Regions from separate parts of the Homo sapiens genome. Here all the other regions are linked to region 2. The links are contacts of gene promoters, found by promoter capture Hi-C in blood cells and fetal thymus (Javierre and others, 2016). All regions are on one chromosome and are shown on one strand. The core of a region is centred on a gene start or on the middle of the fragment in contact, and the rest is flanking DNA. Distances in the headings are between cores, read along the strand shown.

Region 1 (4,036 bases), core at 508-3,007, 340 kb before region 2:
TCTGAGTACAGCTCAGAGATATAGCAGTGGGAAAAACATAAATCCCATCCTCACAGCGAGGACAAAACTTGAAAAACTGTAAATTCATGGCTTCTTGGGTCCATCAGAGAACCTAGGTCACAGAGCAACCAAATACCTAAAATCCATGGAAAACCTGATGCCTGCAGGAAGAAGCTGGACCCAAGCCACTTGCTTACCTGGGGCTAGATCCTCTAATATAACACAAATAGATCATATTAAAGAAGTGCTGAAGACAGTGTGGGCCAGCGTGAGAGTCTGAAGTCAAGGGAGCCGAGACGGATGGCGGCTGACACCCTGATGCTGGCTTTAACTCCCCAAGTCTACCAGCTGTTCTGAGGGGAGATTCGGGAGAATCCCGGGCAAGTCTCTGTTGCAGGCTGAATTGCGTCCCCCAGCCAAATTCACACGAAGGCCTAACCCTCAGTACTGCAGAATGTGACTGTACTTGGAGACAGAGCCTTTAAAGAGGTAATTAGGTAAAAGTGAGGCTGTTAGTGTGGGTCTTAATCCCATGTCACCGGGGTCCTCATAAGAAGAGGAAATTTTGACACACCAGGGTCTCGTGTTCACGGCAGAAAGACCATGCGAGGGCACGTTAAGAAGGTGACCATCTGCAAGATAAGGAGAGGCCTCAGAGGAGAACAGCCTGTAGGCGCCTTGATTAAAATGTGGTCAATAGGGGCCGGGCGCGGTGGCTCACGCCTGTAATCCCAGCACTTTGGGAGGCTGAGGCAGGCGGATCATGAGGTCAGGAGATAGAGACCATCCTGGCTAACACGGTGAAACCCCGTCTCTACTAAAAATACAAAAAAAATTAGCCTGGCGTGGTGGAGGGCGCCTGTAGTCCCAGCTACTCGGGAGGCTGAGGCAGGAGAATGGTGTGAACCCAGGAGGTGGAGCTTGCAGTGAGCCGAGTTCACACCACTGCACTCTAGCCTGGGCGACAGAGCAAGACTATGTCTCAAAAAAAAAAAAAAAAAAATGTGGTCAATAGGATGGGCCCTAATCCAATATGTCTGGTGTCCTTATAAGAAGAGGAGATTAGGACACAGACACACACAGAGAAGAGATCATGTGAGGGCACAGGGAGGAGAAGACAGCCGTCCAATAAGCCAGGGAGAGAGGCCTCAGAAGAAACCTACCCTGCCAGCACCTTGATTTCAGACATGTAGTCTCCAGAATGTGGGAAAATAAACATCTGCTGTTTAAGCCACACAGTCTATGGTCCTTTGCTATGGCAACCCTAACAAAGTAACACAGCTTCCTTTCTGGTGCTGGCTGAGGGGAGAGAGCCACCGCCACTGCCAGACCTTCTCCCAGCCCATCTTCTCTAGGGAACAAAAGCCCCAATCAGCTGAGAAACAGCACAGAAGCTGTCACTTAAGGACATCTTAACTGGATAAAATCCATTGCATCTGGGAAAGGGGCAGGGGATGCACTATCCTTGGGAAAGGAGGAACACATGCTAGGATCAGATCTGCCGCTAGAAGAAGAGCTGGGTAGGAGCACCTGCAAAGGCCACACCCCTCAGACCCACAGACAGCATCTGCTGGCAATAAGGCATAATCAGAACATCAGGGGAAGCCTTTCTCCCTCACCAGCAGGCTAACCAAGCTGGAGAAAAAGTAACACATACTATAGCTGAGAGATCCGCAAGCAACAGATTCTCTGTGGGACTCAATGCAAAGGCGAGACTCAGAGGGGAATGCAGACACAGAGAAAACAACCTCTGCCAAACCAGCACTTGCCCTTGACACAAGGTACCACCAGAAACATTTGAAGCCCATGATGCACAAAGGATAACACAGCAACAACAAACCCCACAACCAGCCTAACTCCAGACGAGGGGAACACAAAATCCCACATGGCCTAGCAGAATGAAAGGCAGGCTGATCTCCAAGACAGTATCTATGTCCTATGCATGATGCGCAGTTTTCAATAAAAAATTATGAGACATACAAAAAGGCAAGAAAAGAACACACTTGGAAGAGATAAAGCAATCATCAGAAACAGATAAGACACAGATGTTGTAACTATCTCACAAGGAATTCAAAATAACTATGATTAATATACTTAAGACTATCATGGAAAAGGAAGACAGCATGCAAGATCAGATAGATAATTTTGGCTGAAAGATGAAAACTAAGAAAGAAGCAAATGGAAATACTAGAAATCAAAAACATAGCAAGAGAAACGAAAAATTTCTTCAATAGGCTCATCGCTAAACTCAACAGGCATGAGGAATGAATCAACGAACTTAAAGATAAGTCAGTAGAAATTAAGCAAACTGAAAAGTAAAGAGAAAAAAAGACAGTGGGAAAGAAAACAGCATCCAAGAGTTGTGAGACCACACTAAGTGGTCTAATGTACGTGCGATTTGAATTGCAGAAGGTGAGAGAGCAGAGAAAATATCTAATAAGTGACAGCTCAGAATTCTACAAAATTAATGACCTAATCTTGCATTCCTGGGATGAATCTCACTAGGATGTAATTGTATTAGTCCATTTTCACGCTGCAGATAAAGACATACCTGAGACTGGGAAGAAAAAGAGGTTTAATTGGACTTACAGTTCCACATAGCTGGGGAGGCCTCAGAATCATGGCAGAAGGGGAAAGGCACTTATCACATGCCAGCAGCAAGAGAAAATGAAAAAGAAGTAAAAGTGGAAACCCCTGATAAACCCATCAGATCTCGTGAGACTTATTCACTATCATGAGAATAGCACGGGAAAGACTGGCCCTTATGATTCAATTACTTCCCACCGGGTCTGTCCCACAACACATGGGAATTCTAGGAGACACAATTCAAGTTGAGATTTGGGTGGAGACACAGCCAAACCATATCAGTAATGTATTATCATTTTACATATTGCTGGATTCAATTTGCTCATCCTTTGTTGAGAATTTTTGCTTCCATGTTCATAAGGGAAATTGGTCTTTGGTTTTCTTTGCTTTAGTTGTTTTTATTTGGTTTTGGAATTAGGACAATGCTGACCTCATAAAATGAGTTTAGAAGTATTCTCTCCTTTTCCATTTTCTGGAACATATCGTGTAGAATTATTATTATTTCTTACTTAATGTTTGGTAAATTTCACCAAACCACAGATCCAAGAATCTCCTGGAACACCAAGCAGGATAAATTTTAAGAAACAAACCACATCTAGGCATATTACACTCAAACTTCTGAAAACTAAAGACAAACAGAAAATTCTAAAGGTAGCCAGAGGATAAAAGACAAAAAAAAAAGATAAGAATTAATACTGACTTCTCATCAGAAACCATGGAAGTAGAAACAATAATGAAGAGACATCTTTAGAGTGGGGAATTAAGAAGACACTATTGTACAATCCTAGTACTACCTACACTTCAGTATGATTAGTCGTGTCAGGTTAATTTTTAAATTATATATATATATTTTTTTCTCTCTTTCTTTCTTTTTTTTTTTTTTTTTTTTGAGACAGAGTCTCCCTCTGTCACCCAGGCTGGAGTGCAATGGCACGACCTTGGCTCACTGCTACCTCCACCTCCTGGGTTCAAGCGATTCTCCTGCCTCAGCCTCCCAAGTAACTGGGATTACAGGCACCCACCACCATGCCCAGCTAATTTTTGTATTTTAATAGAGATGGGGTGTCACCATGTTGGTCAGGCTGGTCTCAAACTCCTGACCTCAAATGATCCGCCCACCTCGGCCTCCCAAAGTGCTGGGATTACAGGCGTGAGCCACCGCGCCCGGCCTATATTTTAAATTCTAAGTCAACAGCTACAGTTTTTTAAACTGACATAAGTAATAAGTCTACAGAACAGATAAAATGGAATCAAAAAATTATTAATTAGCTCCAGAAAAGGGAGAAAAAAAGAACAAGAAAGAAACAAAGTACAAAAAAGAAAAGAATTTGCAAAAAGGTAAATTTCAGTCAAACCATATCAATAACTACTTTAAATGTGAATGATGTAGCCACATTATCTTAAAATACAAAAACTGTCAAATTGAATTTTTTAAAGCAATATGTAAATA
Region 2 (3,662 bases), core at 931-3,430:
TGCTCAGGCAATACTCCTGCTTCAGCCTCCTGAGGAGCTGAGACTACTGGCATGAGCCTCCATGCCCGCCATCCATTCTGACAGACAGTTCTACTTTCCTAGCAGGAGGCAGAACCCTGAGTAGGACAAATGGATGGCCAGACAAAGCAATCAAGATGGGTGGTGAGAGTGGCTCCATCTTTTTCCTTGCCCTGCAGGCCCCTAGGAGAGGGTTTCTCTGAGACCTGATGTTTCCCACTCCATACCTAACAATGGTGAGGAACTAGGGCCAGGCTTTGTGGATCCGGCACTTTTCTCTAGGCCACAGTTAGCTGCTTAGAGGTTGTGGGAGGAGAAGGATCCTGTTATGACCAATTCTGCAAATGGATTCCAATATGTCTTTACAGTCCCGGGGCCCTGGGAAAGTGTGTAAGTGTGTGTGTATGTATATGTGTGTGTGTGTGTTGGGGGTGGAGTTATTCTGGGTCATGCCACCTGGAAATCACTGCATCAATGAGACCTGGAGATCACTGCATCAATGAGACCTGGAGCAGCTCACTTCATTGTCCCCAGAAAGGCATCTTTGCCCAAGAAGAGAACCAAAATCATGGCTCAGGGAGAGATGGCCCCAAGTTATGCATCTTGAGTGTGTTTGCACAGGTGGAGGGGTGGGTAGGGTAGAAGGTTATTCAACAGTCCTGGTTCTCTGGATCTATCCAGGCCCTCGACCTTTATCCATGTGCTCACTGACTGCTCTGTTGGGGGCCTCTTTCTGCCTCCCAGCTGGCGGTGAGCTAAGAGGCTTCCGGTGTCAGGGAATGCTCCACCTCCGGTGTTCAAGGCCACTTTTTGTGCATGTGTGTGTACCTGTGTGCACGCTTTCCCAGAAGCAAGTCTCCTTCTTGTTGTTTTGGGAGCTTCATGTCCTGGAGCCAGGGCTTTGTGGCTAACGAGTGCTTTGAGAGGATGAAATTCCTGAGCTCTCGCTCGCTGACCCTCTGCCTTCCTTCCTTGGCCAACAGCCCATCCCAGGGAGCGGTGTGATTCTTACCACTGCCTTCACTCCTTGAAAGAACAAACATCTTCACTGCAGCCTCTGAGCGCTGGTGTGAGGTGATTGTTTGTAGTAGATGTTTCCATGACACTCATTTATTTCTTCTGCAAATACAACTGTATTGGGGGAGGGGAAGCAGACAGGCTAGGGTAGGGAGACTGGAACATACGAAGACCTTCCAGTTTCCTATTTACATTCCTCTGTAGGATGAGAAGCTCCTTCCCTTTCCCTGGGTCTCCTCCATCCCAGACTCCTAAAGCTTCCCCCAAACCCATCTTGGTTTCATGCGGCCGAGTCGGGGCTGGGCTCCGAGTAAGGTGGAGAGGGGAGGAACCATGTGCGTGAGGAAGCAGCCTTTATCAGGAGAAGTGGGAAAAAGACCCAACTTTGACTGCTTGGAGTCGGGATTCAGTAATGATGAGCAGCAGTGACCAGCACTGGGGGTGGAGTGTGTGTGCACGAGTGTTCCTGAGGGGTCTGTGGCACTTCGCAGCTGAGCCAATGACTCACTCTAAATCTTAGCGACTTTGAGAGGTCATTTTAGTCATCCCCCGGTCTGCATCACGTTTGGAGGGGGTGGTGCGCTGCTCTGGGGACGTGTCTGGGTGCGGAGGGAGACGGGGTGGGGAGGCGGCGCGTGACCTCTTTGAAAAGATCTCCGGCGAAGGACGTTCCCCGGCTCTCCCGGGCCGCCGGCTCCTGGGTTTCCCCATCATAGAATCAGCATGGTCCTCTCGGGAACTGCTTTTTGCCGGATGGAAACCGGATGTTGGGTTCCATGAGTGGGCGGGGGCTCCACTTCCCTCAGACCTGTCCGGGGTAATTGAGACCCGCCAGGGTCCCGTTAGAAGCTACCATTTCCCTCACCAGAAACTTGCCACGCAGTGTGAGCCGAGAGAGAAGCGGGCAGAGACGCTATACCACCTTCTCCCCGGCAATGCGCATGATTCTGCGGCTCTGTGCTCGCCACACTTCAACGCACCTTGAAATGGGCTCGCCTCCTTCGCGCCGCGACGGGCGGAAGGCTGAGCCAATCGGACCCCCGGCTTGCGGGCGGCGCCCAATAGGCGGGCGGCGGGGGCGGTTCCGGAGGCCCGGCCCGGCTAGGCTTCACCGTGGACCTGGCTGCGCTCCGCCCGGGCGAGTAGTGCAGGTGCCGCTGCGCCGGGGCCGGGGAGGCGCGCGCCGAGCCGAGCGGAGCCTAGGAGGGATGGAGAGCTGGCCACCCGGGCTGCAGGAGCACCGGCGCGGGGCGTAGGCGGCGCGAGGCGGGCGCGAGGCGGGCGCTCGGGCGCGAGGCGCGTGCGGGCGCGGGAGCACTTTGCGATAGGATGAGGCTCCGGGCTGGCGCGGTAGTACTATGATTTGGTATGTGGCCACTTTCATAGCAAGTGTGATCGGCACCCGAGGGCTTGCGGCTGAAGGTGAGTTGAAGTGCGGCGTCCCTCCCCTGCCCCTCCCGGCGCCCTCGGCCCCTCGCGCCCGGCCCCTCGGTTTCCCGGCTCCTTGGCCCCCCGGTTCCCCAGCTCCCCGGCGCGCCTTCCCGCGGGTGAGGCTTGGGCTCCGACGCGGGCCAGGCGGCCCGGGAGCATTGCCGGGGAGGGCCTGGGGGCCGTGGGCTGGAGGGGCGGGCGGGAAGGGGCCAGAGCCCACGGGCTGCCGGGCACTCGGGGAAAGGACGCAGTGGAACCTGGGTCGACTTCGCCCACCACGGGCCCCACGGTGCACACCGGCGCGCCTAGCCCGTCGCCTCCTGCCCGGCGGCCGCCTCCCAGAGCTGCGGGAAACTCTGGCTGCGGGAGTTTGCGGTCTCCGGGCAGGCTGCAGCACGCTAGAGCCCCGCGCCGCGAGGAGCGCCTGCAGGGAGGCGCGACCCGGAGGATCCCTGGGACTGGCGGCACCCGCGTCTAAGGCCCCGGGTTCGCGCGGCCCTGCGGGCGTCCATCGCTCCGCTCGCGCCCCTCCTGCCCACACATCTTGGCAGCTGGAGGTCGGATCCCCCTAGCAGGGGCGCCCGGTGAGAGGAGGATTGATGAGGCCAGCTTCGAGGTGTGTCCGCTTTTGGCTGGACCCCGCCGGCCCCCGCGCCTCTCAGCCGCACCTGGGCCCCGGCCAGGCAAAAGTTCCCCGGGAGCGCGCCGCAGCCGCGCGGGCCCCACGCCGCCCTCCCCAGGCTGCGAGGCAGAGCTGGCTGGGGGCGGCGGCGGGGGAGGGGAGGGGCGGGGAAGGGGGGGTCCCCACGCTGTGAATCCGAGCGGAGGGGGGATTTTCTCTTTCCGCTTTCCTGGGTCTGAGCTGGGGGAGACGCAAGGGGGGAGCCACCGAGTTGGGTGATGCGTGCGTGAGCGCGCGGGCTTTTGCTTTGGAGATGGGCAGAGCGACCTACAAGCCTCTGGGTGGCACCCCCGGCTCTCGGCCCTTGTATGGAAGTGGGAGCGGAGCCTGGAGGGTGCCAGGACTGTGAGCTCAGGGCTGTCAGCGCGCAGACACGACCCGGCTGCGGGCAAGTTCACCAAGCCGGAGGAGATGGCGGCGGGAGAGAACCCGCTGTGGGTGGGAGTCAGCAGGCAGGACTCGCCGACAGAGAACCCTCTCCCAGCGGCATGGGGCGCCGGGTGGGCTGGAGGCG
Region 3 (3,781 bases), core at 1-2,500, 380 kb before region 2:
AAATCCGTCCTTCTCCCAAACAATATCATGACGTCCCCACTATCTCAGAAACAAGAATCCAGTCTTGACAAGGTGTAAACATAGAGTTTGTCAGTGTGTTCTTCTGGCCACAAAGGACTTCCAGATATTTATCTCCATCAAAAACTTCCCTGTCTCCCAGGGGAAGTGCAGAGAAACTAAGAACTTAGTTTCTCTAAGTAAAAAAGAAGCAAATGACAAAGCCGAGCGGCGTAGGGCCTGCCACCACTTCCAACCGTTCAGTTCATTCGATACTGCCGGTCGGCTTCCCACTGGAGGTTTTGAATATGGAAAGTGCTGACCTGAAAGATAGGGTCAGGGCTGTAGAATCCTTAAAATAAGCACAGTTTAGAAAAATGCTGGGCTAGGGCACCCAGAAAACTTTTTCACAGGCTGTGGGTAAATCACAGTATCACTGAAGCCACTCCTTTGCCATAAACAACATTTGGAAAAGGGGGAGAGGAAAGGGTGAGCTGGTAACAGGTGAATGGTGGGAAAGTGGAGAGAGACGACCTATCAGTCCTACTGTGCAAATAAATCATGGCCCGGGATCTTGGAGGCCCACGGACACTGTTCTTACGACCCTGCCAGGCCAGCTGGCTAGACCATACCTGCCAGGCTGAAGCGCCGGCCTCTGCGGAATAAGGCGCCTCCCAGAGGCTTGGGAGGAAAAGGGGGGCCTGGGGGAAGGGCAGAGGGAGCTCTCCGCGGAGCAGTGGGGACGGGGCCGCGATGGGGTGCGTCTGAGAGGGCTCTGACGGCTGGAGGGCTGCGGGCGTCCACGGGGGGCAGAGCCCGGCGTCACAGGCGCGGCGGGGTGGGCGGCTCGGGGCACAGACGCCGGCTCCCGAGGGCACGCCGGGTGTCGCCCAGAGGCCTGGATCGCGCGGCAGGAGTAGAGTGCCTGCAGCCGCAGGGGAACTCGGGGGTATTGGGGAGCTCCCAGAAAGAAGCAGCTGGGGCTGCTCCCCCCGGGAACTCGGGATTCGCGGGTCGCGGGAGGAGAGAACCCGAGGTGCGGAGGGCTGGGGAATGTGGGGTCCGGCAGGTGCTGCGCGAAGCTCTCTCTCACCTGCGGAGCACCAGGAAGCCCAAGACGACCAGCAGCAGGAGTCCCAGCGTGCGGGCCGGCCTCCGCCGGAGGCTCCACGTGGTCATCGCGTGTTCTCTAAGCGCGGGGACCCGGGTTCCCACTCCAGTCCGCACTCAGCCGCGCGCGGGAGCCTCGCCGCGGGGGGCGGAGCCGCGCACTGGTCGCCTGGGCAACCGGCCCGCCGGCGCTCATTGGCTGGGGCTCGCGGCTCCGCGCCTGCAGCCCTAGGCCTCGCGCAAGCGGGGGCGGGGCTGGCCGGGGCCGGGGCGGGGCCTCTGTCGGGGGGGGGGCGGGGCGGGGCTGGTGGGCGGGGACGAGGTCTCGGTAGGAGAGGGGGCTGGCGGGGGCGGGGCTGGCGGGGCGGGGCCCCGGCCGGGGGCGGGGCGGGGACAAGGTCTCGGTAGGGGACGGGTCTGGCCGGGGCGGGTCCCCAGTGTCGTGGAGCGGTGCAGAGTCCGCCGTCTTTCTGCTCGCGAGGCGCAGGCGGGTGCGGGAATGCTGCGTACCTGTCAAACGCCGAGGTAAAGTCGCCCCTCGCAGCGCTACATCAGGAAGAACGTACAAAAGGCGTCCGCAAAGCAGGGGCAACCAACAGAATCTTTTAAAACAATTCAGATTCTGAAGCAAACAACTTTTTCAATAACAAATCATCCTGTGAAAAGCCAGGATTTTGAAGAATTGTATCTGGACACATTTCAGTGTGGTTCATGTCTGAGGAGGGGGGGTTCCAAATATTTTCTGTCTTTGGTTTCTGCGAGTCTTACTCTGGCCTTGACTCCAAGGGCTTCCAATTTTTTATTTTAAAAAGGTCCATATAAAACTCTCACATTTTAGGAAAGGAAGAATATCATTCTTATTCTGAAACAGAATGTATGTCCCAAAGAACATGATGTAGTATTTCGGTGCAACTTACACTGTAGCAATCACAAACCCAACTCCTCCCGGGAACAAAATTCAGATTTTACTGAAAGAAACTCGAGGAAGGGCAACGTTTTCCAGAGCATCCGGGTTTGTCGAATGTCTCCCTTGCCGCATGCTTTGAATTCATTTCCTAAACGGGGGCATAGTTTTGAACTTGTAAAGCCGACAGGAACCAAATGAAATTGCAGATCTTGGAACAAAGACACAGACTTGGGTATGAAGTGTCCTTTGTCTAGCGTTAAGCACATATTTAGTCAAGGAGCAAAAGTTAAATCAAAGAGAGGCAAAAACAAACGAACAAACAAGAGGAAAAAAACCCTGGCAGAACTGGGGAGGATAAGCTGGGCTTGGAGCAATCCGGGTCTGACTTAAGCACCGCAAACATTCCCAGAGGCGCGCAGAGGGAGGCCCACTCCCGTGGACGCGCTCCAAGCCCGCTCCTTTTCTCCATTGGGTAAGGCTATGATTGCTTGATGGCTATGAAGTCTGTGATGGAAACATGTTGGTTTAATTGGAATATACCAGCTAGCCCCGAAGCGTGTGGAGAAATTGTCAAAGGCTAGCCCCTTTGCCTGCAGGGGACCATCCGAAAGACATGCACCCCACATTCATCCTCTCACTTCTGGTCACGTTGAACAGTGGCAGAATCTATCAAATATAAGGGAATTCTCAAATGGTTTAAGCAATACAAGCATCTCCATTTTTCTTCAAACGTTAGCAAAAACTTAACATGGGTTGTGAAAACCGTGAACTCCTTGGCCCACCCTTGTATCCTTCGTTTTTATTTGTGCGAGAAAAATATACATAACTGAGTGTTTTCAAAAAAATTTCCCCTTAACCTTGTGGGATGTTCAGAACTAGGGACACACCCTGCTCACAGTCTAGGAACAATTTTACTTTATCTGGGCTTAATGATACCACAGAATGCTACAAAGTTAGCACTAACCCGAGATGCGTCTTGCTCATAGGCTGAGACTTTTTTTTTTTTTTTTGAGACAGAGTCTCACTCTGTTACCCAGGCTGGAGTGCAGTGGTGCAATCTCAGCTCACTGCAATGCCTCCCGGGATGCAAGCTATTCTCCTGCCTCAGTCTCCCGAATAGGTGGGACTGCAGGCACCCACCACCTTCCCCGGCTAATTTTTGTATTTTTAGTAGAGACGGGGTTTCACCATGTTGCCCAGGCAGATCTCAAACTCTTGACCTCAGGTGATCCACCTGCCTCGGCCTCCCAAAGGGCTGGGATTACAGGCGTGAGTCACCATTTCCAGCCTGAGACTTTTGTTTTTTAAAACATTAGGCCGGGTGCGGTGGCTCAAGCCTGAATCCCAGCACTTTGGGAGGCCGAGGGGGGCAGATCACGAGGTCAGGAGATCGAGACCATCCTGGCTAACACGGTGAAACCCCATCTCTACTAAAAATACAAAAATTAGCCGGGCGTAGTGGCGGGCGCCTGTAGTCCCAGCTACTCAAGAGGCTGAGGCAGGAGAATGGCGTGAACCCAGGAGGCAGAGCTTGCAGTGAGCCGAGATCGTGCCACTGCACTCCAGCTTGGGCGACAGAGCGAGACTCCGTCTCAAAAAAAAAAAAAAAAAAAAATTAGCAAGATACTCCTTCAGTGTCTCCTTTCCAAAATGTTTAGTGATCTTAACCCAAAGCAGACAGTGAAAATACTCAAATCCCTGGGAACAAAAGCTACAGTTACAATGAGCTGGCATAAGAGTGGGGTAAAAAAGTGGTCTGCCAAGGTG
Region 4 (4,037 bases), core at 418-2,917, 280 kb before region 2:
ATTCCAGGAGAGCAAACCTTATATGCCACAGGGGCAGACAGGACCTGGTCTGTTGAATAACAAGTCTCTGGCTGAACCTAGGATCCCTGGGGAGGACGCTGCTGTGGAGGGGATGAGAGAGAAGACAGAGACACAGCCCTGAAGGGTTTAACAAGCTGCCCTCTGTGGCCCGCCAGTGCAGCACTGTCATCCCCGGCACTTAGCACTGTGCTAACACTCAATGAGGAGGAGCTCTTTAATTGTATTTCCTTCTCCATAAAACATTATTTTAATATAATCTAATGTAATATAATAAATTGTATTTTCTTTTAAATAAAACTTAGATAATCCCCACCATCTGTCAAGCATTACCAGATGAAGTTATAAAGATATGGCCAGGCGCGGTGGTTCACGCCTGTAATCCCAGCACTTTGGGAGGCAGAGGCGGGCGGATCACGAGGTCAGGAGATCGAGACCATCCTGGCTAACACAGTGAAACCCCGTCTCTACTAAAAATACAAAAAATTAGCCGGGCGTGGTGGCGGGCGCCTGTAGTCCCAGCTACTCGGGAGGCTGAGGCAGGAGAATGGCGTGAACCCAGGAGGCGGAGCTTGCGGTGAGCCGAGATCAAGCCACTGCACTCCAGCCTGGGCAACAGAGCGAGACTCCGTCTAAAAAATAAAATCAAATAAAAATAAATAAATAAATACATAAAGATATGCTAGCCATACCAACTACACATTTCGGCTACTATCCTCTGTGTGGCACTGGCTGCTTCTTGGGGATCCTTTCGGTTCACCTCAGTAACCATCACACTGCCCAAGACACCTGTCCCTAGCCCTCTTCTAACTGCTCAGCCTCCCAAGTCTCCCCACCCCGCTGTCTGGGAAGACACTGACTTTTACTCCACTAAGAAGATGAAGGCCTTCCCAGTCAAGACTTACAATGTGCTCCTTCCTCTGCTTTGTTCCTTACTTAAGGCCTAAACATGTCTCTGCATTTTCACCCATCCTGTCTCCAACAGCACCTCTCCCTCTCAAGACCTCTCCTCCCCACTCCGGCCCAAGAACTCTCCATATGGATGCACAATGAAATCACCAGGAGAGGAGAGCCCTTAAGAATCCTGCTGCCTGGGCACACCTGATATGTGATTGTCTGGAAAGGGACACAGGCATTCGCATTTTAAAAAGCTTCCCACATGATTCTAATGTGGAAGCCTTGGTCCGGCATCTGGATCCTTCTACATATTCTGATTTCCCCAAGATCATCAATCTCCCTCTAGCTAAAGGCCTTTTCCTCTGAGCTTATTAAAAAATTGGTTTCCAAAGTCACCAATCCCAAGAACCCTCTCCAGGCCTTACCCTCTTGACCTACCATACTTTCTTTTCCTTTCTTCAGAGACAACTGTCACAAGGCGGGTTCTGCACCAACAGCTGAGGCTTCTCCACGAACCACTCCTCCCAACCCCTTGCTTCTGTCTCCACCACCCAACAGAAACCGCTCGCCTCGAGGTCAGTAACCCATGGCCTCCCAGCTGCCAAATCCAGCAGCCCTTGATTCTGCGTCCCGTGAAACACTTCTTCCTTGAAACACTCTTCCCGCGGTTCCACAGAGGCGCTGCCCTGATTCACCCCCCTCTCCTCCTCCTGCCATGCCCTGGTGGGTCCTGGCTCTCCTCTCCTTGTGCTCCCTTTCTTCAAAAACGTATCAGTTATGACCTCTGAGCAGATCAGTCCTGACTGCACATTTCTAAGTGTCCCCTCTGTCCTTAGTGCCAGGTCTGCGCTTCCAATTGTCTGCTAAACTTTTATGCTTTCTCTATTTTGCCAGTATTTCAGCCTGCCCTCTAGAGCTGGATGAATCACCTTATCTCCAGATCATTTCTTCCTCCTGATAGCCCTCTGTCTCCATCTCCACGGCTGCATGCCTGCACTCACTGGTAATCTCTGCTGGTGTCTGTTACATTCCTCACTTTCTCTTTGTTCCCATTACAGCCACCAAAATCATACTCGGAGGACCTCACAATAGCCTTCTGATAGTTTTGTCTCTACACTCTTCCCATCCACCAAATGCTACATATGGACTCCAATCTTCCAAAATAACCTTTTCTCTGCCTAAAGACAAAAGAAAAGTCCACAATAATCTTTTCATGTTTTCCCTCTGCCTGTGTAATAAGAAAAAGCTTTTAATCTGGAAGTTACATCTTTAAACTGTCCTCAACTAATTTTCCTATCTCTACCTCCTCTCTTTCGCAACATGAATCCTAAAGTCTTCATGTGATTTGGACATTAACACTTTTCTTTTATTGTGGCAAAATACGTATAACATAAAATTTACCACTTTAACAATTTTTAATTATACAGTTCAGTGGCATTAATGATATTCGTATTGTGCAAACATCACCATCAGTCTCCAGAACTTTTCCACCTTCCGCCACTGAAACTCTACTCATTAAACACCAACCCCCATTTCCTCCTTCCCTCAGCCCTGGGCCTCTACCATTCTATTTTCTGTCTCTATGAATTTGACTGCTCTGGGTACCTCATATATATGGAATCAGACAGTATTTGTCCTTTTGTGACAGGCTTCTTTCACGTAGCACAATGTCCTTTAGGTTCACCCATGTTGTAGCATAGGACAGAATGTCCTTCCTTTTGAAGGCTGTATAACAGTCCACTGTACGGACAAAACACATTTCCTGTGTCCATTTACCCACTGATGGACACTTGGGTTGCTTCTACCTTTTGGTTATTGCGAATAATGCTGCTGTGAATATGGGTGTACAGATATCCGTTCGAGATCCTGTTTTCCATTCTTTTGGATCCGCTTCTGGATCCAAAAGAGGAATTGCTAGATCATATGGTAATTCTGTTTAATTTTTTGAGGCACTGCTATACTGGTTTCAACACCTTTCTTTCTGCCGTACAAACGCTTAAGACAAATCCACTGCAAAAGAAAAAAAAATTAAATAATAAATCCCTCGGTCAAACTGAAGTGATGACTAGATGATCCTCGCGGTTGCTGCATTCTCTGGGTGCGATTATGAGACACTGTCTTTACTGGGTGTAATGTCAGTCTTAGACCTCTCTGCAAAGATTTGTTTTTTTTCTTTTAAAAAAATTAAAAAAATTTTTTTTTTTCGTAGAGATAGGGTCTCAATATGTTGCCCAGGCTGGTGTCGAATTCCTGGCCAAGGTGCCAGGATCACAGGCGTGAACCACCACCTCTGCAAAGATTTAAAAAGAGCCTTCACTCTTCTGATGGAAGAAGGGAGGACAGAGAAAGAAAAGAAGTTAAAGGTCTTGTGGTGTGTACCATCCTAAACTCAGGTCCTCAGGTGAGGAGATAAACCGATCTTATGAGATGGTATCAAGACCTGGAATCAGGTGTTCAGAGTCACAGGGGAGACTGCTTTATCCCAGTAGCATCACATAACCTCAAGTTTACACCTAACAGTCTATATCTGCTGTAGATTTTTTTTCACCCAAAAGACCTTGGCATCAGTCTCTATTCTCAGAGTTTCCAACACTATAACAGTAAAAACAATCCATGTACCTATGTGTTCACATTTTAAGAACTTTATTTTCTTATCACCCCCAAAAGAAGAGGACATCTAGAATTAGAATCCAAGTCCATTACCCACTTTGAAGTGAGAAAGCTGAGTTACAGAGCTCAAGGTCACACTGCAGCTGTGTGGCAGAGCCGGACAGCAGGTCAGGATCTCCTGACACCCAGCCAGCAGGAGTGTGCTGGGGGTGGCTGACGTTGAACTTTCAGGAATTTTATGACCTGGCTGTTAAACACAGCAATTATTTAAAGTTAAATTATATAAACTCACAATTAAATGAATCATGTTAAAAACAAAGGTAAGACATGCGAAAATCTCATCACTTCCTATTTTCCGGCCCTTTACAATGCTCTCTGCTCTTGAGGGAATGTGTCTCCATATGATGGTAATAGCACATCTCTCCCACCTCTACATTTAGGAACATTAGGTAGCTTGAAATTGGCCATGGCGGGGCTATGTACACTACAGAAATTGACACATGCTACAACCT
Region 5 (4,009 bases), core at 696-3,195, 330 kb before region 2:
CTCACACCTTTAATCCCAGCACTTTGGGAGGCAGAGGTGGTGGGATCACGAGGTCAGGAGATCAAGACCATCCTGGCTAACACAGTGAAACCCCATCTCTACTAAAAATACAAAAAGTTAGCCGGGCATGGTGGTGGGCACCTGTAGTCCCAGCTACTTGGGAGGCTGAGGCAGGAGAATGGCGTGAACCCAGGAGGTGGAGGTTGCAGTGAGCCAAGATCAAGCCACTGCACTCCAGCCTGGGCAACAGAGTAAGACTCTGTCTCAAAAAAAAAAAAAAAAAAAAAAGGCAATGCATGGCACCTGTGTTCTTCCCATCTGTAGGAGTAAATCAAACTAGAATGCAGGGCAATAGCAGGTAGACTTACACAGACACGGAATGGGGGGTGCAAGTTATTTTTTTACAACATAAATGGAAAATCCAAATGTCCATGAATAGGATATGAATTCCCGAGTTTTGTTTTTTTGTTTCGTTTTGTTTTTTGAGACAGAGTGTCACTCTGTTGCCCAGGCTGGAGTGTGGCGGCATGATCTTGTCTCACTGTAATCTCTGCCTCCCAGGTTCAAGTGATTCTCTTGTCTCAGCCAGCTGAGTAGCTGGGGTTACAGGCATGTGCCACCATGCCCAGCTAATTTTTTTGTATTTTTAGTAGAGATGGAGTTTCCCATGTTGGTCAGGCTGATCTCGAACTCCTGACCTCAGGTGACCCCCCTGCCTCGGCCTCCCAAAATGCTGGGATTATAGGCATGAGTCACCAAGCCTGGACTGAATACCTGTTAAATGAATTATGATACATCCCTACTAGGGAACAGTGTGCAGGCACTAAAAAGAGTGGCTGGTTTCAAATCTACGTATTTCAAGTAACAAAAGAAAAATGCCTGAGAGGCATAGACACGTGTGTATAATTTGCTTCTGTGCTGATAAAATCTCTAAAAAGAGACACAAAATCTAGTAAAATTGGTTGTCTCCTGAAAGGGCAACTAAATGGCTTTGGGACAGGGTGGAAGGTGAGATTTTTATCTGACCAAAAATTCATTTGTACCTTCTGAGTCTTTTTGCCATGTCAAAAGTGGAAAGAAGCAATGGGAAGATTGGCAAGCTTGAGGAATAGTAAGTTCATGTGGACAACCAGTCCCTGCCTTGTGTGATGAGTCTTTCTAGCAACCCTGGGGAAGCTTACCCGGACAACAAGGACAGGACAGGTCAGTGCTTCTGTCCTCAAGCCAAGGGTCCAGAACTCAAGGTTACAAGAAAGTCAACTCAATTGTTCATGGAGACTGCATGTGGCCTCTTCAGTGATCAAGCCAGAACAAACTCTTTCCCTAAAGGGCACGTAAGAAAGATGCAGGGGACAATTTGGCTTTACCTGGAGAGGAATCACTCTGGGAATCAGGTGGTCAAAATACTTCTCAACTGCTTCAATGAAGCTCTTGTTGGTTGTCCTCAACAGTAACCGGGGGTCTTGCAGGAGCCAGCTGGGGGCAAGAGGGGCGGGCTCAGGGTCTGAGACGGGTTGGGAGAGGGAAGCAGGAGTGGGCTCAGAGCTGCCCCGGCTCGCCGCACATCTGCCCAGCTGCCTCACACCCCCGGTCCCGGAGCACTCGGGTCCTGGAAAGATCTGTGCCGCGTGAGACTTTCAGACCATTCTCACAGACTTGTGGGATTTGAAAGGAAACGGCCGCCTCCACCTCCAAGGCACTTCACAACTTCGGAAAGGCCTTCAGCTCTATTTGGTCTGACTGAGGGGCTGGCCTGTCAAGGCTCTTACAGCCATGTCTTAAAGAGCTTTTTCTTCTACCTTTTGGTGAACACTCTCTATTCTTTTTCAGTTTATTGAAAACATTTTTTGGTCAGGCGCGGTGATTCATGCCTATAATCCCAGCACTTTGGGAGGCCGAGGTGGGCAGATCACCTGAGGTCAGGAGTTCGAGACCAGCCTGGCCAACGTGGCGAAACTCCCGTCTCCACTAAAAGTACAGAAATTAGCCGGGTGTGGTGGCGGGCGCCTGTAATCCCAGCTACTCAGGAGGCTGAGGCAGGAGAATCGCTTGAACCCGGGAGGCAGAGGTTGCAGCAAGCCGAGATCGCGCCACTGGACTCCAGCCTGGGTGACGAGAGCAAGACTCCGTCTTAAAAAAAAAAAATTCTTGGGGACAGAAAAAATTTCCTTAGGCACAGTGTCACATTTCCACTAAGGGCTAAGGCTTCAGGCTCAGGGCAGGAGCCTACGTGCCAATGATACTCCACCCACTCCAGGTCACTGGGGAAGTGCCAGGCAGGCCTCCAGCCAAGCTATGCCGGGAGTCACTGCTTCCCGAAAACTCCACTCCCCTCAGCTCAGGCTTTCTCTGCCCCTGGAGAAAAGCAAAGACCTCTCTCTTCATCCTGGAGAAAAGCAAAGGCCTCATCTGACTCTGAGGTGCAGAGGTGCTCACTGGAGGCAGAGCCCCAGATTCCCCAGGAAGCCCTGCCCACCACAGGGGTGGCAGAGAGGAGTCTTGGAGTCTCACCCTGACCCTCAGCAGTCTGGGCTGGGGGCCAGAATCACAGAGGAGAGAACAAGGCAAAGAAAAGCAAGAGGGAAGGGAGGGGAGCTGAGGGTGGTCTCACTGCATGGAAAGGCAAGCCTTCCCCTCACAAAATAAGCGAAAGATCAGAAGTTTTCAAAACAAGCCGAGTCGTCAGAACCTTCCCTTGCAGGCCTTAAAGCTTCTGGTCCCTTTCTTCCCAGGGCATTTTGAGAAGGACAGAGGAGGCTACAGCCCCTCCTGCATGGGGAAAGAAGAGTGGGAGCCTCTTGTGGCCACCTCTCCCCGCGCACACCCTCTTGACCGCATGCCCAAGGCCCCAGGACCAACGTCTGGAGCTTCTCATCTGTGAATCGGGGATGACAACTGCACCCCGCCCCCCGCCACCGCAGTACCGCAGGCTTCCCACAAGACAACACAGGCACGGTGCGTGGCGTGGGGCAGCACACCTCCCATCGGCTCCGTGAATAAAGGTTACTTTCCTTGTTACTAGCTTGAAATTCACTTTTTTTAAAGCAAATACTTCACTAGAACCACGACTCTGGGACTGTAGCCCCGCTTACCTGGGCAAGCCCCCGAGGTCCATCTCACTGCAGATGTAGCGGCCTGGACGCAGAATCACCCACAGCCCGATCTCTGCGGCCATCAGGACGAAGGCCCTAGGGAGGTCCACATCGTCAGCCCCTCCCACGACGGCCCAGGATGAGGCCGGGTGGGGGCCACACGCATCACAGGGTGGAGGAGCTGCCTGGTGGGGCGAAGGGACGGCTCGGCCCCACCCCCAAAGCGTGGGGACTCCCACACCAGGTCGGTGGCCTGAGCTGCTCCCAGCCTCAGAGCCTCTGCACAGCCCCATCGGGGGCCTGAGGAGGAAGGGTGACACCCAGGGCTCAGTGGTCTCAACAGTGAACCTGACCCCATAGCCTTGCTAGCCTAGAGGGGCCGCCCTGCCCCAGCCCAGGCGCCAGACCCCATGCAGAGTCGGGCGGCTCCCAGGGTCTTCTGCCCCTCTGGGCTGCAGTGGAGAGGTGGGGCCCGGAGGCTGCAGGCCCAGTCCCTCTGGGTGACAGGTCACGGTTGGGGAGCGTCTGGGTCCTGGGTGCAGGGCCTCTCACAGTCCTAGAACAGGACTCCAGACCCACGTCCCTCCCTGGTTCTCTTTGGTTGCTAATCCACCCCCAGTAGCCACCTCTGTGCCCTGCCCCTGACCAGGGCACAGAAGCAGCAACACCACATACTCCAGGTCCAGGTTCCCAGAGAAGTCAAATTTGCCTCTTTCTGGCTCATGCAGGTTCCACGGAACATAGCTAGAAGAGGTGAGAGGGAAGTATGATGAGTATCTTCTTATTTCTTCCTCCAAATTGTTAGGTCTGCCCCAAATCCAAGCCAAAACCATGCATAGCTCTATTTTGAAATAAGTTGAAGTTACCAGTGGAAATTAAACCTCTGTTACACTAACCATGACCATCTTTAATAGTTC
Region 6 (3,849 bases), core at 731-3,230, 300 kb before region 2:
CCCAATTCTTCTGTAAGTGGGTGATGGTGTGGCCTACAATAAATGTTTTCCTGCTTATTATTGCAGGGTGGAGAGAGAGTTAGAATGAAGGCGAAGTTTCCTACGCACATAAAGCTCAGTGAGAAAGCAATTCCAAGAGTAATGGAAGGAAAACGACTCTCGGGAATTCAGTTTGAACACTGGCGACTGAGCCCATAAACATCTTTCTGGAATGAGGTTTGCAGAAGAAAGCAGCGGTCTAACCTGTGGTAGCCTGTGACTCTGACATTAACACCAGAGCGGTGGGTCTCAAAGTGTGGTTCTCAGACAAGCTGTGGCAGCCTCACTTGAAGACTTGTTGCAGATACAAATTCCCAGGCCCACACTAGACCCTCTGGAGCAGAAGCTCTGGGGTTGAGGCCCGCAATCTGCGCTCCCATGCCCTCCAGGCGATTCCAGCACAGGCTGAGGTTTGAGAAGGGTGCTGTGAAAGGGGCAGGGAAGCCCCATTATATAATGTTTCCAGCAAGGCAGCCTCACGTTGCTTCACCGAAGTCACTCAAAGAAGCCTCTGCCCCTCCTGCTTTTCCAAGAGTCGTGTCATTTCAAGACTTCCGCACTGGCTGTAGAGAGTGGAGACAGCCAGGCTCCGAGCCCGACCCCAACGGCTTCCATGTTTCCTCGATAGAATGTCTGTGACTACCAAGAAGATACCCATATAGTGATGGTTTATTTTATTGAAAAATACACTAGTAATATTGAGACAGGTATCTTTTAGGCCATCTGGCTGATAATCAATATAGAGCTACTGATGACCATACTGGCTCACATTTGCCTTGTCCATCACTGTTCTTGGATCCCTGAGAACCACGTACTCGATAACCTTAGAGAAAAGCCCCGGCTGTGGTTTTCAACATGCTTTCTCATCCATTATCTCAGTTCACCCTTCTCGCAGATCTCCAGAGGAAAAGGGCAGCAGCAGAGCGATCTGAGGCCCCCCGAAAGGGACGAAGCTGCGGCTCTGGACTCCAGGCCCCTGCCAGAACAGCTCTGCGGAACGGGAGGGAGGAGGAAGCCTCGAGACAGACAGGGCTTGACTGCACCCTGAGGCCCAGGAGGCATGGGGACAGAGAGTGGGGAAAGCAGCGATCCCGCCCCCGTTCTGAAGGGAAGAGAATAACCTCTGGCAATTTTTACCTTCTAGAATCTGGTGGACCCTGGAGTCCCGCACGTACTGCTGAACAGCGTAATCCTTCAGGTAGCCGTAGCCCCCGTGCATCTGCAAGGCCTGGTTGCAGATCTGCAGGGAGACAGGGACTAGACGTCTTGGACTCTGGGAAGACTGTGGAGCAAGCAGCTTCCCTTCCTACCCCAGCCCACGATCTGGCAGCCCGCCATAAACCCATGAAAGAACCACAAACAGCCAAGCTCAAAGAGGGCCTCCACATTCTGTATGGTTAGAGACAAGGGAAGTTCACCTACTAAACTTGTCAGTTCCCCCCAGACAGGCGACTCAAAGCCCTCTGCCCCTCTCCCTTATTACCTGCCAGGCAGAAGCTGCCCACAGCCACCCTGGCTGGGATGATAAAAAGCTATGGTTCCCCCTAGTGGCAATGCAGCCTGACAATGTAAACATGGCAGAGTGCTAAATTGGGGCTGCTGTGAACCTTCCAAAGGTGGTTTCTCGCCTAGAACACAACCAAACAACAGTGACATAATGAAGTGTATAATGGCATGCAGCAGGCCTAAAAGCCAGCGATGAGAGCTCCCACATAGGCCGCTCATGAGTTCATTTATATCCTTAAGCTTAAGGTGATCCTTGTGGGATTCCAGGAGGGCTGGGTTCCAAATCTGACTCATGTCTCTCAAGACCCCTGGGCCTAGCAGCTGTTCCCTGTCCATCCCAGGAGAGCCAGAGGAATCACTTACGGCAAAGCATTCATCTGTAGCAAAGAGCTTGGCCATGGAGCACAAGGCCACTGCATCCTTCCTCTCCTCCTGCAGAGCCACTGCTGCATTGCGGACCATCAGCCGCGCGGCCACCAGCCTTGTTGCCATATCAGCCAGTGTGAATTGCAAGTACTGCAGCACAGGGAGCAGAGAACCAGACAAGACTGAGGGGCTTAGACCAGCACCTGGTGCAGGAGCCTCGGTAAGACATCTCGGAGGCGCCTTTTCTAAGTGATCCAAAGCTTCAAAGTCTCTTGCTTTTTCTATAGAGGAAATTTATTGCTTTTAAGTGCTAAGTCCACTTCACTCACCCGACACTTTAATATCGTTAAAGATATCCCAAGAAAAGATGGACAGAAATAAAGCACAAGCTCTGGCTAGGACAGTGGTGGGACTGACAGAGGAATTTCCTGGCTTCTCTCCTGGAAATGTGGGCCCTAGAGCAGGTCCCGGGCTGCAAATAGTGCAAAGCCATGTGGAGGCAAGGCAGAGGTTACCTGGTTACTGGCCAGAGGCTCTCCAAACTGCTTCCGGACATTGAGGTGGTCTCGGGTGAGGATGACAGAGGCGTGGGCAGCCCCCAGGGAGCAGGAAGCTAGAGGGGAAGAGCGCCGACGTTCCAACCAAGCTGGAAAACAGCAGTGCCTGTCCCGGACCGCTACCTCCCTGCCACACCCCTGCGTATCTCACCAATATTGATCCTCCCTCCGTTCAGTCCTCTCACGGCAATGAGGAAGCCCTGCCCCTCGCTCCCAATTCTGTTGGCCACAGGGACAGCACAGTCTTCGAAGATCACAGCTCGTGTTGGCTGGGAGTTCCACCCCACCTGGCAAAAATCAGGGACTGCGTGGTTGCCCAACAATCCAGCAGGTAGGGCGGCCTTCCCTGGGGACGGGAGCCTGTGAGGTATGGGTTTCAGCACCCAAGACTTAGACCCACAAGAACTTAAAATGAGGAAAAAGAAAAAGTTCAGGTTTAAAGGCCTGTCAGCACTCAGAAAGATACCTGTTTCAGCTAAACATTTTCTAACTTATTAAGAGAATCTACTAATGTCTACTCTACCTGACTAACCTACAAACACTTCTCACAACTTCTTTTAGGATTGTGACACCAACTGCCCCCAATTTCAGTGCCTCTAATTGAAAACCACAAACTATCTACAATCTCCCAGTTCCTCTCTGGCTCTGAAAATAGACTGCCTTTACATCATTTCCTTGCTCTCTTTTGTTGATAGGATAAACTCCATTTCTAAGCCTTTTACTGAAGGTCTTCCTGCCCAGGAGTTAGCATGGGCTTCACACACAGTAGAAGCCTAGGAAATGGTTGCTGTGTTACCAAAGAGAAGGGGATGCTAAAATGCATAATGCCTTACAGTTACAGAGGATCAGGAAGGATCCTGTAGGAAAATACAGAAACCCGAGGAGCTGTGAGAAAGAGGTACACTTAGGGGTCATTTCATTACCTGCCTTCTCTCACAAAGTCCCCCCATAACAGTACAAACTAGAGAGAGATGACTGCTTTGAGCATCTGGTCTAAAAAATCTGAATGGGTCTTGAGCCCTTATTACCAATTACGGTTACATGATCACAAGTCTCCTGTTCATGCCCTGGCCATGGCGGCTCTTAATCCTAGAAGTATCTTACTTTTCAAATTACTTACAGTACCTAAGTGTCCTTCTTGGGTTGCTGAAATACCCACAATCATCTCCAATGAGTTTTACTTTATTTTTAATCAAAGAAGCAAAAGGGACCACACGCCTTCCATTACTGAGACTTGTGGCCAACACCAGGTCTTCTCTAAGCGTCTCTTCCTGGAGCAACAAAGTGCACCAACGTAAGCAGCTGGATAAGGAACACAGGCCAAAAGCAGAGGCAGGAGAGGTCAGAACACTCACAGGTGGCTTGAAGAATTTACTGGCAA
Region 7 (3,612 bases), core at 749-3,248, 390 kb before region 2:
AATTAAATATTAAATAACCTAGATGAAACACACAAATTCCTAGAAATATATAATATGCCAAAACTAAATCATGAAGAAATATAAAATCTGAACAGACCTATAACTAGTAAGGACACTGAATCAGTAACTAAAAACCTCCCAACAAAGAAAAGTCCAGGACCAGATGGCTTCACTGGTAAATTCTACCAAATATTTAAAGAAAAATTAACGCCAGTCTTCCTCAAACCCTTCCCAAAAATTGAAAGGGAAGGAACACTTCCTACCTTATTCTATAAGGTAGAATACAGTAATAAACTCTTTTCACTTTTCTTTGGGAATTTCTTAATTTTTCCCTCATTTTTGAGTTTTGCTGGATATAGAAGTGTCAAAAAAAGTTGACACTTTTTTCTTTTATTACAAACAAAAGACACTATGAGAAAAGAAAACACGGACTAACAGTCCTGATGAATACTGATGCCAAAACCCTCAACAACATGTTAGCCAACTTAATTCAGCAGCATATTAAAAGAATTATAAACCATGATCAAATGGGATTCATTCCTGTAATGCGAGGATGATTTGCCATGTGAAAAGCAATCAATGTAGGCCAGGCATGGTGGCTCATGCCTATAATCCCAGCACTTTGGGAGGCTGAGGCAGGTGGATCACCTGAGGTCAGAAGTTTGAGACCAGCCTGATCAACAGGGTAAAACCCCATCTCTACTGAAAATACAAAATTAGCTGGGCATGGTGGCAGGTGCTTGTAACCCCAGCTATTCAGGAGGCTGAGGCAGGAGAATCACTTGAACCTGGGAGGAGGAGGTTGCAGTGAGCTGAGATAGCGCCATTGCTCTCCAGCCTGAGCAACAAGAGGGAACCACCATCTCAAAAAAAAAAAAAAAAAGAAAGAAAAAGAATCAATCAATGTAATATACCGCATTAACAAAATTAAGAGGAAAAACCACATGATGATCCCAATTGATGCAGAAAAAAGTGATAAAATTCAACATTCTTTCATGATAAAAAACACTCAGTCAACTAGGAACAGAAGGAAACTACCTCAACATAGTAAAGGCCCCATACAGAAAGCCCACAGTCAACATCATATTCACTGGTGAAAGACTGAAAACTTTTCCTCTACGATCAGGAACAAACCAAGCATTCGTGCTTTCAGCACTTCTATTCAACACGGTACTGGAAGTCCTGCCAGAGCAATTAGTCAAGAAAAAAATAAAGGCAACCAAGTTGGAAAGGAAGAAGTTATCTCTGTTCACAGACAACATGATCTTAAATGCAGAAAACAGTGCACATCCCCACACCCCTAAAAAAAACTATCTAGCTAATAATTCAGTAAGCTTGCAGGATAAAAAAAATCAATGTGCAAAAATGCATTGTTTTTATCCACCATCAGGGGACAATTCCATTTACGACACCATCAAAAACAACAAAATACTTGGGAATACATTTAATCAAGGAGGTGAAATATTTGTACACTGATTGTACATTACAAACAAAATACTAAAAGAAAATAAAAGACAGTGGAGCAAGATGGAGGAATAGAAGGCTGCACCGTTCATCCGTCCTGCTGGAACACGAAATTTTAACAGTGATCTGCACGCAGAAAAGCACCATGACAAAAACCGAAACTCAAGTGACCCGTCACAGTACCTGGTTTTAACTTCATATCACCAAAAGACGCATTAAGGCAGGCAAGAGAGACAGCCTTACACCACCGATGCCACCCTCTCCCATCTCCCAGCGGCAGCCAAGTGGTGAGGAGAGAGGATCTGTGCATTTGGGGAAGGGAGAGCACAGTGACTGGGGAACTTTACATTGAACTCAGTGCTGCCTTGTCACAGCACAGGATAAAGCCATGCTGAGCTCAGCCAGCATCCACGTAGACGGAGCATTTGGACCAGCCCTAGCCAGAGAGGAACTGCCCACCCTAGTGATTGGAACTTGAGTTTCTTGGGAAGCCTCACCACCATGGGCTGAAGTGCTCTGGAGTCCTAGGTAAACATGAAAGGCAGTCTAGGACACAAAGACCGCAATTCCTATGCAACTCCTGGAGCTAGGATGAGCTTACAGCCAGTGTACTAGCACAGCGCATGGCCTAAGGAGCCACCAGCTGGCATGGCTAAGGGAGTTCTTGCACATCCCTCCCCCAAGCCCAGGTAGCGCAGCTCACAGCAACGAAAGTGGCTCCTTCCTTCTGCTTAAGGAGAGGAGAGCAAAGAGTAAAGAGGACTTTGTCTTGCATCTTGGATCCAGCTCAACCACAGTAGGAAAGGGCGCCGGCAGAGTCAAGAGGCCCTCGTTCCAGGCCCTAGCTTCCAGACACTTCTAGACATACCCTGAGCCAAAAGGGAACCTGCTGCCTTGAAGCGAAGGACCCAGTCCTGGCAGGTCCTGTTAAGGAATTGATCTCCAGAAAGTAAAAAGAATTCCTATAATCAACAACATAAAAACAAACAACTAGATTCAAAAATGAGCAGAAGACTTGAATAAACATTTCTTCCAAGATATGCAAAAGACCAATCAGCACATGAAAGATGCTCAACATCACCAGGGAAATGCAAATCAAAACCACCATGAGATACCACTTCACACCCACTGATGGCTCTCCCCAGATAAACAGGAAATAACAAGTGTTGGCAAGGATGTGGGGAAATTGCAAAGCTTGTGTATTGCTGGTGGGAATGTAATTTGGTGCAACTTCTGTGGAAAACGGTATGGCAATTCCTAAAAAAAACTGAATGTAGAATGACAAGTTGATCCAGCAATTTCACTTCTAGGTATATACCCAAAAGAAGCGAAAGCAGGGGCTCAGAAAGGTATTTGTACACCCATGCTCACAGCAGCTTTATTTACAGTGGCCAAAAGGCAGAAGCAACTCAAACGTTCGTCAATGGATGAAGGATAAACAAACGTGTTATATACATGCAATGGAACATAATTCAGTCTTAAAAAGGAAGGAAATTCTGACACAGGCTATGACACAGATGAACCTTGAGGGCGCTGTTAAGTGAAATAATCCAGTCACAATACTATGTGATTTCACTTATATTTGGTAGCTAAAATGATCAAATGCATGGAGACAGAGAGTAGAATGGCTGTCAGGAGCTGAGAGAGGGAAGAATGGAGGGTTTAACGGCACAGAGTTTACATTGGGGAAGACAGAAAAGGACTGGAGATAGACAGTGGTTGCAATAGACTGTGTTCTCCCAAAATTTACATGTTGAAATCCTAACCCCCACTGTGACGGTATTCAGAGGTGGGACTTTTGGGTGGTGATTAGTTATGAGCATAGAGTCCTTGCCAACAGGGCTAGTGCTCTTATAAGAGGGACCTCAGGGAGCTCTCTGACGCTCTCTGCCATGTAAGGTTGCATCAAGAAGATGGCCGTATATGCCCTGGAAGGGGGCCCTTCCAGACACCGAATCTGCCAGTGCTTTGTTCTTGGACTTCCCACTCTCCAAAACTGGGAGAAATGAATTTCTTTGTCTGTAAGCCACTCAGTCTAGGTGTTTGGTTGTGGCAGCCTGAACTAAGGCTGTGGAGATGAGCACACAACAGTGTGGGTGGACTCAATGCCGCTGAGCTGTACATTTCAAAATGGTTAAAATGGCAAAG

The links. Contacts are between HindIII fragments. The CHiCAGO score rates a contact against its expected background, and 5 or more counts as called.
Region 1: a contact is called between a fragment that was not itself captured here and the fragment with the promoter of IGSF9B in region 2, in 4 of 17 cell types (activated CD4 T cells, naive CD8 T cells, naive CD4 T cells and 1 more). The highest score is 6.8, in activated CD4 T cells.
Region 3: the fragment with the promoter of GLB1L2 here is called in contact with the fragment with the promoter of IGSF9B in region 2 in 7 of 17 cell types (activated CD4 T cells, naive CD4 T cells, total CD4 T cells and 4 more); the score reaches 14.2 in activated CD4 T cells.
Region 4: a contact is called between a fragment that was not itself captured here and the fragment with the promoter of IGSF9B in region 2, in 7 of 17 cell types (naive CD4 T cells, activated CD4 T cells, naive CD8 T cells and 4 more). The highest score is 15.7, in naive CD4 T cells.
Region 5: a fragment that was not itself captured here is called in contact with the fragment with the promoter of IGSF9B in region 2 in 7 of 17 cell types (non-activated CD4 T cells, activated CD4 T cells, naive CD4 T cells and 4 more); the score reaches 9.7 in non-activated CD4 T cells.
Region 6: a fragment that was not itself captured here is called in contact with the fragment with the promoter of IGSF9B in region 2 in 7 of 17 cell types (naive CD4 T cells, total CD8 T cells, activated CD4 T cells and 4 more); the score reaches 8.5 in naive CD4 T cells.
Region 7: a fragment that was not itself captured here is called in contact with the fragment with the promoter of IGSF9B in region 2 in 4 of 17 cell types (total CD8 T cells, total CD4 T cells, non-activated CD4 T cells and 1 more); the score reaches 10.3 in total CD8 T cells.

The regions. Positions count from the first base shown.
Region 1 is chr11:134,297,299-134,301,334 of GRCh38, reverse strand. All of the region lies in intron 9 of GLB1L3 (galactosidase beta 1 like 3), which reads right to left. Among named protein-coding and RNA genes, the nearest start is that of GLB1L3, 23 kb to the right of the region's middle. The HindIII fragment of the contact is 4,912 bases long and covers 1-4,036 here.
Region 2 is chr11:133,955,486-133,959,147 of GRCh38, reverse strand. IGSF9B (immunoglobulin superfamily member 9B) reads left to right here and starts at 2,180. Exons shown (of 20, transcript NM_001277285.4): 1 at 2,180-2,457. The coding sequence starts at 2,394. RefSeq lists a silencer at 2,002-2,351. The HindIII fragment of the contact is 2,603 bases long and covers 1,295-3,662 here.
Region 3 is chr11:134,329,457-134,333,237 of GRCh38, reverse strand. GLB1L2 (galactosidase beta 1 like 2) reads right to left here and starts at 1,250. Exons shown (of 19, transcript NM_001370461.1): 1 at 1,091-1,250. The coding sequence starts at 1,176. RefSeq lists a silencer at 1,101-1,400. The HindIII fragment of the contact is 5,891 bases long and covers 1-3,781 here.
Region 4 is chr11:134,235,230-134,239,266 of GRCh38, reverse strand. The region is part of intron 2 of VPS26B (VPS26 retromer complex component B); the gene reads right to left. Among named protein-coding and RNA genes, the nearest start is that of VPS26B, 13 kb to the right of the region's middle. The HindIII fragment of the contact is 992 bases long and covers 1,172-2,163 here.
Region 5 is chr11:134,281,204-134,285,212 of GRCh38, reverse strand. It overlaps GLB1L3 (galactosidase beta 1 like 3), which reads right to left. Exons shown (of 20, transcript NM_001080407.3): 4 at 3,768-3,836; 5 at 3,093-3,188; 6 at 1,368-1,476. Among named protein-coding and RNA genes, the nearest start is that of GLB1L3, 6.8 kb to the right of the region's middle. The HindIII fragment of the contact is 1,534 bases long and covers 1,179-2,712 here.
Region 6 is chr11:134,259,950-134,263,798 of GRCh38, reverse strand. It overlaps ACAD8 (acyl-CoA dehydrogenase family member 8), which reads right to left. Exons shown (of 11, transcript NM_014384.3): 7 at 2,620-2,755; 8 at 2,427-2,524; 9 at 1,909-2,061; 10 at 1,177-1,279. Among named protein-coding and RNA genes, the nearest start is that of ACAD8, 8.3 kb to the right of the region's middle. RefSeq lists silencers at 1,617-1,666, 3,169-3,218. The HindIII fragment of the contact is 386 bases long and covers 1,788-2,173 here.
Region 7 is chr11:134,348,617-134,352,228 of GRCh38, reverse strand. The region is part of intron 5 of GLB1L2 (galactosidase beta 1 like 2); the gene reads right to left. Among named protein-coding and RNA genes, the nearest start is that of GLB1L2, 18 kb to the right of the region's middle. RefSeq lists a silencer at 2,542-2,601. The HindIII fragment of the contact is 1,324 bases long and covers 1,337-2,660 here.